3 separate regions of the Homo sapiens genome follow, and regions 2 and 3 are each linked to region 1. The links are contacts of gene promoters, found by promoter capture Hi-C in human tissues and cell types (Jung and others, 2019). All regions are on one chromosome and are shown on one strand. The core of a region is centred on a gene start or on the middle of the fragment in contact, and the rest is flanking DNA. Distances in the headings are between cores, read along the strand shown.

Region 1 (3,545 bases), core at 509-3,008:
ACAGACCTTCCTTTCAGATTATTATAATAGAGAAATGCCCCTTCTTCGCGTGTTTCCTCCTGGGAAGAAGCCTGTTGGTGCTGCAGAGCCCAGGAGGAGTGCTTTGGGGGGCAGATGGGAAGCAGGTCGGTGCAGCAGTTGGAAATGCGTGAGTTCCAGGAGTTCTTGGTCTTATCTTTTTTATCATTGTTGGCGTCCTGACCCAAATACAAGGAAACCTCCACATTCCATTAGCAGACTCAATTTGGATTCTGCAGCTCTGCAGGGAGAAATAGCATCTTCTCCTTAGCTAGTTGTGCTGCACTCTTGAGATAATTCTCTTAGTTTAATTTTAACATTTGGTTTAAGAAGATGCTGATGGATCAAATTTGAAACTGTGGATCCACTAAACGCCTTTTTAGAAGGTTTTTTTTTTTTCTTTCAAAATAGCAAGCCTTAGGAGCTCAACTCCAGAGCCAATTCACTTCGCGTGAAGTCGGCACTCCTTGGGAGTAGAGGTCCCCTCTCACCGGCTCCCACCCTCCAGAGGGGAGGATTTCTGGGGAGCCCGACGATCCGCTCGCTTTTAGCCTTTCTCCTTGCAACGCGCAAATCTCTCCCTAGTTGGGCTCAAGTAGAGAGGATCACCAACTGCTCATCCCAGCGGACACTCTGCAAAAAACTCTAATGGCTTGTGCGCGGGTCCACGCTGGTCGCTAGCGGCGCCAACTTTACTCATTCGTTAATTTGCTAGTTTTTGGACTGAGTAAAACAGCCCCCAAAGACGCGGGCAAACGCCGCTCTAAAGCCCACTACCATGCAACGCCAGGTTGCTCGGAGCCACGCTGGTGGCACTTCCCCTTCGTGCTCACTCTGCACAGGCACCTCCAGAACCCCGTGCAAATGAACCCTACCGGGAGACGCAGGTGGGCAGGTCGGGTCGGCAGGGACCAAGAGCCTGAAAGGGAACCTGCCCTCCCCTCCCCGCAGCCCGGTCATTAAGGCAAGAAACTGCAGGCAGAGAAGCCCCCGAATCCGACCTAGGACGTCGGCGCCTGCCAGGATCCCCTCGCCTGCCCCCCGCGCCCCGCGCGCGCTCATGCCACCACCACGGGGAGGGTGCATGCGGCAGGTGCCTGGCCGAGGCCCCCGGGAGCGAGTCGCCCTTACGTGCTCCAGCTTGTCTTTCCTCCGAAGCCAGACGCTGGCGCTGTAGTCCTGCTGCTTGACGCTGCTGTAGAAGTTCGCGCCCACTCGGGTCAGGCTTGGGGAGGGCTCCTTGGGGCGGCTTTTGAGCCTCATCTGCTCGAAGCCCTCATGGGGGGAGGCCGAGAGCCACTCGTGCTGCCGGATCTCCATCCTGACATGACCGGGCGGCCGCCGGCGAGCAGCGGACTCGGGACGGGCGCGCGGGGAGCCGGGCGCGGAGGGCGAGCGGGAGGCCCAGCGGGAGCCGGAGGTGGAGCTGGAGACTGAGCTGGAGGAGCTGGAGGAGCGAGCGGGCGCGGGGAGCGCGGGGTGCTGAGCGCCAGCTGGGAGCGCGGCCGGGCGGGAGGGGGCGATCGCGGGAGGCGCGGGGCGGAAGGAGGGAGGGCGAGGTGCGGGCGGGGGCGGGGGCGGGGGCGGAGGGGGACGGACGGGGAGAAGGGGGACGAGAGGGGACAGGGAGGGAAAGGAACCTGCTCCGGGGAGACAGAAGTGCCCGGTGCGGCGGCGACGTCGCCCGGCGGCTGCGGTCCCGAGCGGGCGCTCCGCTCGCCGGCTCCTTGCGGCACCTACTGGGACCCGGGCCGGCTCCCGGGGCGGCGGCGGCGGCGGGGGTGGGGTGCGGTGGGAGGGGCCGCGGCTGGCCCAGCCAGCCCGCGCCTGCAGGTTGGTGCAGTGAGGAGCCGCCGCCGCCCCTCCCGCCGCGCCCAGGCCCGGGCGGCCGCGCTCCCGCTCCGCACCCGCCTTTCCCGAGCAGGCTACACCTCTCCCTGGCGCATCTTTACTGGAAAGCCGGCAGGCGAGGGGAGAAGTGAGCGCCGTCTCCGCGCCTCCTCGGTCCTGCTGGCTGAGCGCGGGGATGGCTCCGGAGGGAGACACTCAGGAAACCACCTCCGCCCTTCCCCCATCTCTATCCAGCGGCGCCCCCTCACCCTGCCCCCGGCTCGCTTGGGCTGCGCCTTCCCCCATTCTGAAAGTTCACTAACTTCCCACCCCAAGGGACTTAGAGCAGAGGGTGCCCAGCATTCCCCCCTGAAAATAGCCGAGAGACATGTGTTTTCTGGAGCCGTACACGCTACTTTCATCCGATGGTGTGGCGATGCAAATACGCCCGGGGGCAGTAGCCCCTCGGGCAGGCACGCGGGACCGGTTGCTCCCCAGCCCTCGGTGTCCACCTAGAACCGGGCTCCCCGGGCCGCACCCATTCCGATCCTGGGAGGGTGATCCAGGGCTCCTCTGCAACGCTCCGCTTGTGCGGTGACTGTTCCTTAGGTGGACGTGGCCCAACTGCTGTGCATTTGTTTCTTTTCTCTGTTTCTAGGCCCCTAGGGTCCAGGCTTTTCCTTCGGGGCCCAGCCAAGCGTGATGATTATTAGGAATAGGGTGGCTTGTTCGCGATTAAATCTTCAATCTCTTCATCTTTTGCTATCTTTGGAGTCAACCTCTCGAAACATTTTTTGGTTTTATCTAAATGCTAAACAGCTGGTGTTCAGGGTGTCTCGTGTCTGGTTAAAAGCTTGGGAAGTGTATGGAAGCTGGAGAGGTATACAGGGGATTTTAGAGGGTGTTGCCAAGGGTAAACTGAAGGCTCTCTAGCCCTCGGCAGAACTGCCCTACTTGAATGACGGTTTCAAAGACATTCTGGCTGGGATTTCACAAACTTTTAGGAGGACAGGGATTGTGTTTCATATCTTTTCAAAGTCTCCATTTAAAAAAATGGTATAGTAAAAATAGTAGTTGAAATAAAATCCTGTGCACATTCAATATGGGGATGAAACAACTAAACACAAATACACACATTTTGGTTGTGCTAGGTTGGTTTTCTTAGGAGCTGAACTATATTGTGCAATAGATGCCCCGACCTGTGGGCTATCTCTAAGTCTCATGTTATCCTGCAAGATAAATGTTATTAACCCTCCTTTCCAGTGAGGAAAGTGAAGCAGAAGCAGAAATTACACTTCAAAACAAGGATATGAACCAGATTGAAAAGCTGTGAAGGCCAGGCGGAGTGGCTCAGGTTTGTAATCTCAGCCCCTTGGGAGGAGGAGGCAGGAGGATCACTTGATCCCAGGAGTTCCAGACCAGCCTGGGCCTACACTAAAAATAAAATAAATTAGCCAGGCGTGGTGGTGCTCATCTGTGGTTTCAGCTACCTGGGAGGCTGAGGCGGGAGGATCGCTGAAGCCTGGGAAGAGGAGGCAACAGTGAGCCGATATCGCACTGCACCCTGGGCGACAGGGCAAGACCCTGTCGGAGGTGAGGCTGTGAAAACTATACATTCCATTGTATAGCATCTCTGATAATTTTGTTTGTTTGTTTTGTTTTGTTTTTGAGATGGAGTCTCGCTCTGTCACCAGGCT
Region 2 (3,545 bases), core at 643-3,142, 200 kb after region 1:
CCATGTCTTCCTGAGACTTCTACATTCTGGACTTCTTTCAATATGGAAAATTAAATCCACGAAAGCTCAAGCACTTAACTGCATCTTCTCAGAACTTTTGAGCTCATTGCTGATGTCGGCATGAGAGCAGATCAAATATTCCCCACTCATTAAAGTCTTCAGGAAGCCTTGAATGCTGCTGAAGACGTCATGTTTTAATACAACAATCTATAGGCTTCTATGTGCCCACTGTTTATGATTTGCAAAGACATAAATCTAAAGCGACTTCCATTTCAGTATGGCCTGAGGTTTTCCCCGGACTTCGCAGAATTTAAATCCCTGCGTTGAAGGAATAAAATCAATCACATAAGTTTTAACAGTGCTGACTTTCCCTGTCGAAATGTAAGGCGCTCATTGTTCTGCAGAGACAGTGTGGACAGACGGTCAGAGAAACCAAGCTTCTCAAGGGCAAGAAGAGCTACCTCAAGTGCTTGCCTGGTCCACAAAGAACTTGATGATCAAACAAGGTCATCAAGAACCTCAGTATATGAGCTCCATGACGGCAGAACTGCTGCAGGGCGGAGTCCAGTGGAGGGGGAATTGGGGTGCTGGGGCAGAAGAAGCCTCTGCCCATTATGCCTCTACCTTGAGCAAAAATGAATCTTTCAGGTGCTCCATAAGAAATCAATCACTACACTGATCAGAAACCATCGTGGCATGGAATTTTCAATCATTCCTTCCTGTAATTCTTCTTTTAAGTGTAAGAACTCTTTTTGCAAACGATTTTATGTGGCTTCTTTTGCAGAGCTTACTCCATGATCTAGCCCTGGCAGAGTCTCCAACAGTCTCTGGTTTGCTCTTCCAGAGTCAGTCTTCAGTCCAGCGTCAGTTTTTCTGAAGGAATCACAGGATAGGACCAGAAGGCACTGTGGGAGAAAGGAATTTCTGAACTGTGTTTTCCATGGGAGAGCCAGAGGAAGACAAGTTAAGGTCTAGAAACCTGCAGTCTCCACAGCTCAGAGAAGGAGAGAAGCGTGGCTGTATCTGGGCAGGTCAGGGGCATCAGGCGCATGTGACTAGAGGAGGTAGTAAAGGAGGAGGTGTGGCTGGGTGCAGTGGCTCACGCCTGTAACTCTAGCACTTTGGGATGCCAAGGCGGGTGGATCACCTGAGGTCAAAAGTTTGAGACCAGCCTGGCCAACATGGTGAAACCCCATCTCTACCAAAAACACAAAAATAAGCCAGGCATGGTGACACACACATGTAATCCCAGCTTCTTGGGAGGCTGAGGCAGGAGAATCACTTGAACACAGGAGGCAGAGATTGCAGTGAGTCGAGATCATGCCACTGCACTGCAGCCTGGACAACAGAGTGAGACTCTGTCTCAAACAAACAAACAAACGGAGGAGGGGGAATGGACACGTTATGTGTTGTTCTCATTTATGGCTGCCAGATTTAGCAGAAGGAGGAGGAGGAGGAATAGGGAAAAGAAAAAACAAAGGACATCATGGGACACACCCGTACTAGAAAATTATTCATTGTCTGAAATCCAAATTCAGCTGGGCATCCTATATTTTGCCTGACCACCCTATTACCGACTCCTCCCTCTCTTGGCCTTCCCACCGGTACAGCTCCACCATTATTCATTTCATAAATCGTGGTCTACATAAAATTGTTTTAAAACAAGCTTCTGGTGCTTTAGAAAGTAAAAAGGATGGAATAGTTAAAAATTACTACTACACCACAGCTAGTAGATTTTATCACTGCAAGAAGGACAAGAGGGTGTGCACGTGCTGTAACTTCATGATAAGCAATTTTAAAATTTATTTGATTATCATTGGATGCATTCCAAGGGAAGCGGCATGTGGTCGATGGAATTTTTCACTCCAATTCTTTGCCCTTTCTACTATCCATACATTTTGTCCTGTGGCTTTTGCAGTTCCTCCCACTATAGGCAGAATTTGGCTAATCTTTGGGTTTAGCCACATGTCTGCTTTGGCCAGTGGGGTATGATATAATGCACTGGCATGATTAGGCTTGTCCTCTTGCACCCTGACATTAACGTGAGAAGAACATGCCTTGCAGAGTTGCCTACTTGACTCAGAAAAATAAGATGCTTGAAACAGATCTAAATTGAACTCAAGGCCTGCAGCCAAATCTAGCTGAGCCCAGACAAGCTGACTCATATATACACAAGCCAGAAATAAATGCTTTCATTGTATGGTCCAGACTTTGGGGGTGGTTTGTTATGCAGCATTACTGTGGTAAACACTGACTGATACACACCACCTCATCACTCTCAGGGTATCTATCTAGGCTGCCAGTTCCTTCACGAGCCCACATTCACACTAGCATGCATGACACAGACTTTTCCATTTAGGAAGGATATTTTTAGCAAAAAGTTTAGCAACAATGAATTCTCAGAATTTCCCAAGATTCATAGAGAAGGCACCCACTAAATGAAAATTACCATCCAGATTGCTAATGAGATTATCACTAATCTTCCTCAATTTAAAAACTAAATGTTCTTTCCAGGATTTTTAAAAAGCATTTCAAAGATGGAAATGAGGAACTAGCCACCATGAGAAATTATAAAATTGAACAGCTGTGCAGGCAACTCATTTATTAGAGTCAACATTTAACCAGGCAGGAGCTGGTGATTGTTATTTCCCCTTCAATGTATTCAGGATGTATGTTTCATTAAACTTGATATTTACAGGAAAAATCCAGTATGTAACAGATGGGAAACTTGGAGAAAATTTTTTTTTTTATTTTAGTCAGTGGTGTTCTCCAGAGATGCCTGCCACTACACCTCCTCCTTCAAGCCCCTTCCTTGAAAAATGTGTCAAAACCCTAATTTCTATGTTGTTTGCCTCCTACAACACCTTTCAATGCATTAAAGCCCAATATTTGTACTCATATTTCCAAGCACTATTAGAAGGATTGGAATTCTTCAAAATTCACACAGTAAACTGCATTATGTGATTGACCCACATATAGAAACCAAAATAAACTCTTCAATGGGACCTTTGTGCTAGAGATTACATCAGGAACTACAATCAAATGGCCACAGCAAATGAGACAACTTGGTATTTTTTTTTAACAGGAACCGTAAAAATTACTCACTGAGAAAGAACATCAAGTTAAATCAAGCAAAAACACAGTGCGGTTCCAAAAATACAATGGCGTTTTCAGGAATTAGTGTACAGGAGCTTAACGTCTTGCTAACACACGATAACACTCAGCTTCAGCTACAGTGTCAAGCTAGGGATGGTAGGTTATTGAATTAGGACACTGCTTGTCAAATAGTTTTACCAAAAATATATTTTCAAGCCAAGAGGAAATGACCTTAACAGGTCTAGAGTCAGTTTAGACTAAAATGGCTTACTGCAATTTAAGTGTTCTGTCTTCAAAATTCACAATTTTTGCACTCTATTTCATAATATATCCATGTTGCTTCACACGATAATAGTATTTTCAATTACCAGTAGGGAAAACAAGCAAGTTTCCTCAAGGCTCATTGGTTAGTAGCAAAACATTGTGAGATACTGGATCAATCGAACTTG
Region 3 (3,545 bases), core at 648-3,147, 170 kb after region 1:
TTTGTAGCATTTATGTCTGAGATGCAGAAATACTCAAGGTTGCAATAGAATCACAAGACTAAAGAGACTCTGCCTTATTGGCAAAACTGTACCCCTACAACTAACCCACTACATGTCTCTGACACTGTAAATGCATGTCAGCAGCCTTCAGGGGTAATGGAATGAGGGAAAGGAAGAAGTATACTCTCAGCACAAGGCAAGCTTAGGTTTGCCTTCCGAGTCAAAGCCTTCTAGCTCTGAGCATGTGCACGGCGTCATCCCTCTGCTCTCTCTCTCCCCTCCACTTGGCTCTTATCTTCTTCCAGCCATAGTGCACAGGTCTTGTCTTTTGGGAAGGCTTGTTTCAAGGCCATCTTAGACTAAAGGCCCTTCCTCTGAACTTCCTGAGACAGTCCCGCTGTTTACCTAGTCAAAGCACAGGCTGTCTTGTTTCATAATTCTACAACTTCTCTGTTGTCAGCACAGTCCTGGAGGATCCCAGAGCACAGAGCCTGGCACGCAGCCGTGCTCAGTGTCCTTGCTGAGTGAATGATGGGATCCATTCGTCTGTATTCACCAGTGGGGTTAAGCTTCCCACTTCTGTGGTAGCTAAAGCACTTCAATCTGTTCAGACCCAACTGAGGGTATTCTCAGAGCCCAGTGTGAGGGGGATGTAATTATGAAACTGAAAGCTTATTCAGAAATAACAGCTGTGGGTCCAGTTATTCAATGCAGACTCTATGGGCTCCGTTGAACCCCTTAAAATAGCCTGTAAATCTTCTCCCAAGCCTGAGGCCAGCAGAATATTTTCCCTGGAGTTACCAAAAGCCCAGTTCTCTTTTTGTTCTCTTTTGTGTCCCAGCACGAAGCCCAGCAGGCTGGACCTGCAGGTAGGGCTGACAGCCAGCAGTTGCTGAGCTCCCTTGTCTTAGCATCTGACAGAGAGGCCCTGGCACCAAGCATTTTGAGCAAAAAAAACAGAGCTGATTCAGGTGCTGGGCTTGGTTCTTCAGAAGCTGCCATCTGGACACACTCTGCCTCAGAAAAAAATGCCAAGCTTAGGGGTTCATCAGGCAGGAGGGCCTCCAGGTGCACCTGTGAGCAGCATCACTCATTAATTTATACTCACTGGACCACAGCAATAGGACATCTTCAGGCGCAATCCACCTGCCATAAACACCTTAGCTGGGCAAAGAGTGACATTATTTGGCACGAACCTGGTAGCTACCTGCAAGGGGTAACGTGAAAGTGAATAGGGTCCTGGAGGGGCAGGCCAAGTTCAAGGTCAAGATCAGTGGATTCAAAGTGAGTACCCAGGTGTTCATTTCTTCACATGCCTGCTGAATGCTATAGGCCTGCTCATTTCCCCACCGGCAAGTCATTTCTGCTCTGTTTAGACACACACACACACACAAACACACACACACACACACCCTAAGAACAGACTCATGGACAAAGGGTAAGCACCAAACAAGAACAATAAAAGGAACACATTACTGAATTAATGGAAATTTTAAAATAGAAAAATTTTCTTTACCTCAAGCCACATACACTTAGAATTATTTACATTTTGGCTTAAATCAATGCATTAATAAATGAGATATCACTTTTGCAAAAAAATTTCAAAGTGTATTTGCTTCCTTTGAACCTAATTGCCAAGATATGTTGGCTCTCATACAAAAACTGGGTTTGTGTCAATAAATCTTATTTCAGATTTTGAATAGTTGGGCTGCCGAGTAAATGCAATCTAAGTAACAGCCTCATGTGATTTGTATTAGACCTTAGTTTCTTTTCTTTTTCTTTTTCTCTTTTTTTTTTTTTTTTTTTTTTTGTGTGTGTGTGTGAGATGGAGTTTCACTCTGTCGCCCAGGCTAGAGTGCAGTGGCACCATCTCAGCTCACCGCAAGCTCCACCTCCCGGGTTCACGCCATTCTCCCTCCTGCCTCAGCCTCCCGAGTAGCTGGGACTACAGGTGCCCGCCACCACGCCTGGCTAATTTTTTGTATTTTTAGTAGAGATGAGGTTTCACCGTGTTAGCCAGGATGGTCTCGATCTCCTGACCTCGTGATCCGAAGTCAGATTTGATTTTAGCTTATTGCCAAACTTTCTTGATTTTCAGCTCCTTCTGGAACCCTGGCTGTGATGGAGGAGCAGAAACAGAACATATTCAGGTCTTCCTCTGCATTTCCTCCTCAACTTGCTGATGCTTAAAAAATAGCAAGAATACAGTCTCATTCATGGAGTTACAACTATATTAAGCTTAGCCTATAGGAAGGGAGAATAAATAAGAGTGCACTAATTAATACATTCTGAAATATAGCCCTGGCAACTAACAGCTTAGGATTCCATCCTGATTTATTACACTGACTCATCTCCCTAAGAGGTTAAGAGTTTCTCATAATGCAGGAAACGGGATCTCATTCACTTCTTCCATATGACCATTCACTCCAAACCCTCTCTCCACCAACTTCTCCTGCTCTATCTCAGGGCTGTAGACAATAACGCTTTTCACTGAAAACCAGGTCCCTTGCCAAGATTTCATTTTCCACTTCCCACTGGTGAGGCAGGCAGCCACCAGGTGTGGCATAGAAAACTCATAGAGGCATTCTATCTCTTTCATATCTTCCAGGGTGGCAGTGAAGCTACCAGTGCAGTTATTTAGTATCAGGCATTTATTTTGAGATATCTTCTCTCTCTACTCAGTAACATGAAGAGATAGAAGGACTCCAGTGATGATGAAGTTTTAATTCCTAGCATTTTTCTATGCTGTCAGGTTGTCTTTTCTTTGAGGAATGCAATTACTGGAAGTGGGTAACAGAGCAAAGAAAATCCAACTAGTGTAGATGGAGAAAACATTTTAAATTGCTTCAAAATGAGATGATGCCACTGAGGTGATGAGATGAATAAAATCCTATTTTGGGCAAAATCCACAGATAGGATAGCACGCTTGCAGCAGAAGAGTATGGTTGTGATGGCCTGAGAAAGAAAGCCTTCTGGAAAAGTTCAAGAGAGAGTCTGTGATGTTTGTTTTGCATAGATGAGACAAAACAGGGAAGATCAGAAGGAAGATTAGAGTAAAGGTTAATATTCCTAAGATATGACCCAATCGCTACAACCAAGGACTAAGCTTTGGGGTTGACTTTTATCCCATTTCTGTCCCTAGCCTGGTGCTTTTCTCCTTTTGCCTAATCATTATCAAAATCCTGCCACTCATCTCTCAAGGACCAGCAAGAGCCCCGCTTCCTTTCCCCAACCTTCCTAGACCACCCAGACATCACTATTAACACCTTCGTCGGCACTCCCCAATCATGCCTTGTTTCTCTAGCCACCATTGCGTTCCTCTCTCAGTATTGCGTGTTCTTGATACGTGTGTGTCTATGTCTATGCATGCATGTATATGTATATACACACACATATATATATATCCCATTCATTCATTTCATCCACATATATTTTTGAAAACTTATTATTATTTTGAGATGGAGTTTCACTCTTGTCACCCAGGCTGGAGTACAGTGGTGAGATCTCGGCTCACTGCAACCTCTGCCTCCCAGGTTCAAGCGATT

Evidence for each region. Contacts are between HindIII fragments. The study calls those that stand out against the background at their distance.
Region 2: a contact is called between a fragment that was not itself captured here and the fragment with the promoter of PLD5 in region 1, in 6 of the 25 tissues and cell types used here (hippocampus, mesendoderm cells, neural progenitor cells and 3 more).
Region 3: a contact is called between a fragment that was not itself captured here and the fragment with the promoter of PLD5 in region 1, in 6 of the 25 tissues and cell types used here (H1 embryonic stem cells, heart right ventricle, hippocampus and 3 more).

Annotation. Positions count from the first base shown.
Region 1 is chr1:242,522,939-242,526,483 of GRCh38, forward strand. PLD5 (phospholipase D family member 5) reads right to left here and starts at 1,759. Exons shown (of 10, transcript NM_001372062.1): 1 at 1,150-1,759. The coding sequence starts at 1,338. The HindIII fragment of the contact is 9,545 bases long and covers 1-3,545 here.
Region 2 is chr1:242,724,242-242,727,786 of GRCh38, forward strand. No RefSeq gene overlaps it. Among named protein-coding and RNA genes, the nearest start is that of PLD5, 200 kb to the left of the region's middle. The HindIII fragment of the contact is 5,147 bases long and covers 1-3,545 here.
Region 3 is chr1:242,690,807-242,694,351 of GRCh38, forward strand. No RefSeq gene overlaps it. Among named protein-coding and RNA genes, the nearest start is that of PLD5, 170 kb to the left of the region's middle. The HindIII fragment of the contact is 3,960 bases long and covers 1-3,545 here.